2 separate regions of the Homo sapiens genome follow, and region 1 is linked to region 2. Evidence: promoter capture Hi-C in 16 types of primary human blood cells and fetal thymus (Javierre and others, 2016). All regions are on one chromosome and are shown on one strand. The core of a region is centred on a gene start or on the middle of the fragment in contact, and the rest is flanking DNA. Distances in the headings are between cores, read along the strand shown. Region 1 has its middle 25 kb from the start of HSFX1. Region 2 holds the start of EOLA1-DT (EOLA1 divergent transcript).

What was found. The method cuts DNA at HindIII sites, captures the fragments that hold promoters and counts their contacts. A CHiCAGO score of 5 or more calls a contact.
Region 1: a fragment that was not itself captured here is called in contact with the fragment with the promoter of EOLA1-DT in region 2 in 1 of 17 cell types (endothelial precursors); the score reaches 5.1 in endothelial precursors.

The regions. Positions count from the first base shown.
Region 1 is chrX:149,747,768-149,750,596 of GRCh38, forward strand. No RefSeq gene overlaps it. Among named protein-coding and RNA genes, the nearest start is that of HSFX1, 25 kb to the right of the region's middle. The HindIII fragment of the contact is 633 bases long and covers 987-1,619 here.
Region 2 is chrX:149,538,302-149,541,001 of GRCh38, forward strand. EOLA1-DT (EOLA1 divergent transcript) reads right to left here and starts at 1,451. Exons shown (of 10, transcript NR_027455.5): 1 at 1,400-1,451; 2 at 423-605. It also overlaps a transcript of EOLA1 not described here. RefSeq lists silencers at 862-941, 1,692-2,001, 2,012-2,081, 2,114-2,304. The HindIII fragment of the contact is 11,440 bases long and covers 1-2,700 here.

The sequences.
Region 1 (2,829 bases), core at 53-2,552, 210 kb after region 2:
ACAAATGAGTTTCAAAAAAAGGTAATGTGGGGGAATCTATAAATTACTTAAGGTGGCTATTAAGAACATAAACACAATGTATAGATCATATTTGCAAACCGATTCAAAGAAACTGCATTTTAACAGGAGCATATGTCCACCAGATACATGTGACAAATAAGTGAACATTTCATTATATTAATGACTTGCTTACATGTTTAGGAAAGATAATAATGTTGGCTTTATGTTTTATAAGAGAGTAGTTATCTTTAGAAATGCACTCTGATGTATTTGGAGATGAGATCACATGGTGTCTTGGATTTGCTCCACATTATTTCAGTTTCTGCTATGCGGAGTAGGTAGGGGTATAACTAGAACCAGATTGGCCATGAGTTGAAGATTATTGATACTGAAAGTCTGGTATATTAGATTAATTATAGTATTTACCCTATTATTAGGTGTATTTGAAAATGCTTGTAATGAAAATATTTTTGAAATAAATATGATATTTAATTTGAAATCCTAAGTGAAATGGATAATATTTTAGGAAAATAAGTACATGAACAAATTGATACAAAAAGAAATTCAAATCTTTAACCAAACAATAAAAAGTGAAACTAATCTAAGCTCAAGCCATCCTCAAATGTGGACAAGGCAGCTTCGGAGGCCAATTCTACATTGTTATCAGGTAAAGCTCAAAGCCACCTTAAGTAAACTCTTCCAAGGCATACGAAAAGTTGGGCAATTATTCAAATTATTTTCCCAAGCTAACCATTCTTCATTCAGGTACCAGAGGAGGACAGCACCGTGAAAACACTTGAGCCAAACTTCACTCACACAGAGGCAAATATATTAATTAAATTAGTAGCATATTCAACATAGAAGTGAATTAACGGATTGTGTCCAAGGAACAAAAACATGATTTAATATAAAACAATTTTCAGTTGTGATTTCCTACGTTATCGAATTAAGATTTTAAAAAGTGATCACTTTAGTAGGTATAAAAAAGCTTCTGGATGAAATTCTATACAAGTTAATGGTCAAAACATTTAGCAAAATAAGTTTAGCAGCATATTTTCTTTTCCTGAGATCAATGGACAACATACTTAAGTATGAAATGTTAGAAGAATTCTTGTCATGGACATAGGCTATAACCTCTATCTTTGGAAACTGCATGTAACATAAGGCAGGAGATATGGATATCAAAAGAAATCAGTATGAATATTGAACAGAAAGAGTTAATATTTGGTATGACAATATGATTATCTAGAAAATTCAAAGAAATGTGCACATGGAATAGTCAAATAACAGACTTCAGAATAATAGTATACAGGTTACTACAGTAAAATCAAAATCCTTGCAACCCAATGAAATAACCACTCAGAACAAGTAATAGAAAATACCCCATTCACAATGGCAACAAAATCCAGAAATTGTCTAATAAGACAGACAAACCATACAAGATCTTTATGGAAACAACTATGCAAATACTGATAGATTCGGGTCAAAAACTTCCCAGATAAATAGAGCCATATTCCATATCCCTTAATAGGGAACAGGCTATTGAAAAGATGTCAATTTTTCTTTATCCAAGATGTACAGATATAACGCTTAAAATTTAGCTGGCAATATGAACGTCAAGCTTGGGCTTCTGTCCTTCACTCCCAAAACGAACCCTGGAAAACTATAGAAGGAAGAATAAAATAACAAACAAACAGTATAAACAACAAAATCTAAACAACAAAACATGAGAAAGCTCTGAGGGAGAATGAAGACTGTATTTAACTGGTACCTGTAATCGAAGTGGCCAGAGTGTCAAGGAAGTTAGGGAGAGTCCATAGCTGGCATAGAAGGAAGATGACAGGATGTGTAGAAGGAAATGTTTAAATTTTTGCCCCTATTCCAGTGTGAAAATGTCAGGTGGCACCTGAGACCACAGGTGCCAGTAGTCTGGTTTCATTGAAACAGTAGTAGCTCCAGTCTGTGCTAATAACCACCTAAAACCACATTAATAGGTGAATTGGCTTAACTGAACATAAAGAATGGATTACAAATAGAGTGTTGAGCATTAGAATGAAACAGGCATAATGAGGTTAAGTATGATTTCTGATGCTGAATGAAAGTTTAAAAATGAAAATCACTGCACTGAGCTATGAAATGTTAGATAATTCCAATGGCAGAACTCCTTAGATTTCTAGCTGCTGGTCAGCCTACTCAATGTAAAAATAAATATTTTAGGGTAAAAGGTTTGCAAATTCAACCTCTGGCTGGGGAAGAGCTGCCCTGGGAAGGTGCGTGTCTTCTCCCAGAGGCCACTACAATCACAGCTCCTGCAGCCCCCCCACGGAGCACCTGGCCTGGGACCCGCAGCCATTCTCTGCAAGGGGTGCAGCTGGGCAAAGGCTCAGAGGTGACAGAAACAGAGTATCTGCCACCCATCACTGCATCGAAAGAGCCAGGAGTCAGGAGGAGGATCCTCCTGAGTGAGGACTGAAGGTCCACCCTCCCCACATAGAGGGGCCACAGAATCCAACTCAGCCCCTCCCGTCATTCCCTGGAAGACCCTGGCAATGTTGTCGTCCCGACCACACCCCTCTCCCGACTGCCACCTCATGGGACTCAGAGTCAGAGACTTGGTCTGAGGGGAGCAGAGAATGGGGGTCCAGGATCTGCCAGCCATCAAGGTCAGGACCCCGAGGGATGACTGAGGGTCCTCCACCCCCATTCCCAAACCCACCACCACCAAGACCTAAGCCCTGGGGGTCCCACCCCAATCCCTCCCCCTACCGCCCCCAATTCCTCCCCCTAAACCCCCGCACCCCACATCTTAACAACCACCCCCACCCAAAT
Region 2 (2,700 bases), core at 201-2,700:
GCAGCCACAAGTCTTACAGAGCAATTACCACCCTGGGTTGCAAGAGCCTAACGTGGGGTGGGGACGGGGGAGGTACAAAATGCTATCAGAGCTGGAGACGAAAGTCTCTAATACTCGGAGTGGGGCTGTGAAGGTGACTTTAAAGTTGTGCCTTGAAGGAGGCCAGGAGCGCACCAGGACAAGGCCATGGGAACCGCCGGTGCAAAGCAGGGAGACCTGGAACAGCAGGCTGGTGGGGACCAGTGACTGAACAGCACAGCGTGAACCCAAAGAGTGTTTGGCTTAAGGGTGGGGAGAGCTGAGCCGACTCCCTGAACTGCTAGGACTTAAACCTGAGAAGGCCCAGCAGCGTTTTCACTAGAGGATTGCTGGGGACAGATTTGTGACTTAGAAACTGAGCCGATGGAATGTGGACGACAGACCTGAGGGAAGAAAGACAGAGGACTCCAGGTTGCTCAGGAGGCTCATGGAACAGTGCAGGCTCCAGACCACGAGGCCTGAATTCTGGAAGTAGCAGCGGGGATGCAGGACGAGGAGCCGTTTTGTCTCATCAGGCACTCCAGAGGCAGGGACCCAGAACTTGGTTATGAAGTCAATGCGGGAGACTAGATAAGGGGAGGGACAGAGGAGTAAAGCATGGCAGCACTACAGAACCTGAGCCCGTGACTGAGAGAAGAGAGTTTGAAAAGCAAGTTTGCCAGGGAAGTTGGGCTGTGTGCTGGGCGACTTAGGTCGGAGGAGGCAAGACATTAAGAGTGGGGATGTTTCTCATCACCTGCAAAAGAGACGTTAAAGAGACGGTTCCTCCGGACCCCACTGGCAGGCACTGACAGAGCGGCTAGGACACAGGAGAGCAGGCCTGGGGGGCTCAGCCCTGCAAGACTCAGCCTAGAGCTGCATAGACCCCAGTCAAGTGTTCCCGCCCTTCTTGCTGCTTCCGTGCCCTATGGGGGTAGACACTGGAGGTGCAGTTAGGTCGCTGCGGGCAAGTTTTGACTCTTGCCTAAGGGTGCATCACAGAAGGGCCTCAGCTCCCTCCCCCAGCTCCACCCACAGCTCCACCCCCAGTTCGGCTCTGCTTCATTTCACCAGCATCTCCACCCCCAGCTCCTCCTCCGGCAGCTCCGCCCCAGCTGTTCCGCCCCCAGCTCTTCCTCCTCCCAGCACTTAACCAGTTCCACCCACAGCTCTTTCCCACAACTACGCCCTCCTCTTGCAGGCGGCTCCTCCAGAAGCTCTAACCCAGTTCCTGCTGCAGCCCCACCCTGCTCACCCTGCATCTCCAGTCCCAGCTCCGCCTCCTCTAGCCCCGTCCCGCTTCTCCTACCCCTCTGCCCACCCCAGCACCTTTCAGCTCTTTCCTCCAGCTCTGCACTAGCTCCTCCCCCACCATTCTCACCCGCCAGCCTTACTCCAGCTTGGCTCCCCCTTCTCCAGCAATTTCCCGCAGCCCCGCCCCATCTGCTCCCACACCTCTTTGCCACAGCCCCGCCCTGCTCCTCCTCCAGGAACGCCCGGCTTTCCCTCAGCTCCACGCTGCAGCTGAGCTGTGCACCAGGCCCTCCCACAGAGCTTTCTCGTGATTCCACCCTACACCTCCCCAAGCCCCCGCTCCCCTAAGCTGGTTCTCAGGAGTCCGAGGGGTCCTCCCGCAGCTGCTCCTCGCTCAGTTCTCCCATTGCCCCGCCCTGCTCTTCGCGGGGCTGCTTCCAAAGCCCCGACCTCAGCCAGCAGTTTCTCTCAGCCCCGCCCCTCCCTGCCCCGCCCCTCCCCTCCCTGCCCCGCCCCGCTTCTCCCGCGGCTGCTCCCAAAGCCCCGCCCTCGGCCCCCTCCCCAGCAGTTTCTCTCAGCCCCGCCCCACCCCGAGCCCCGCCCGCAGCCCCGACCTGCTTCTCCTGTGGCTGCCTCCAAAGCCCCGCCCCCAAACCTTCCCCAGCATTCTCAGCCCCCCCAGAGCCCCGCCTCTCCCAGCCCCGCCCTACTTCTCACGCAGCTGCTTTAAAAACCCCGCCCCCAGCCCCTCCCAGTGATTTCTTTCTCCCCCTCCCTCCTTCTCTCAGCGGACACCTGCCTCCCCCTGCTGATTCTCAAGAGTCCGCGAGCTCTTCCTGCAGCTTCTCCTCGCTCAGCTCTCCCACGGCCCTGCCCACAATGGTTTCTCTCAGCCCCGCCCGGCCCTGCCCCACACCCCGCCTCTTATCTCAGCCCCGCCCTCAACCCAGCCCCCAATTGTTTCTGTCAGTCCCGCTCGGCCCCTCCCCCAGCTCCGCCCTCCTCCTCTCAGCCCCGCCTCCACCCCCTCCCCAGCGGTTTCTCCCAGCTCCTCCCTGCTGGTATAGCAGCTCTGGGCCCAAAACTCCTGCCTGGTGTCCTCGTCCCACCCTTCCACTTACTCTTCCTCCCTCCCGTTCCTTTTCCTCCTTCCGGTTCTTCGTCGAGGCTGCCGGTCTCGAGGTCCCCTGGCCTTGGCCTGGTTGGCTGGCGCGCATCAGGGCCAGGTAAAGAGAATAGCGTCTCCTAGCAGCCAGGGCGTGCGTACGTGCGTGATGTCGTCAGTGCGTGTCTTCGAGAATGCGAGATTCATAATGTTTGCTGTCTATATGCATGGCTGAGTACGTGCCTCCCGCGTACGTGCGTGGTGTGCATACATGCGTGATTGCGCGCCCACGTACGTTCTTCGTGAAAGGGATGACGGGAGCT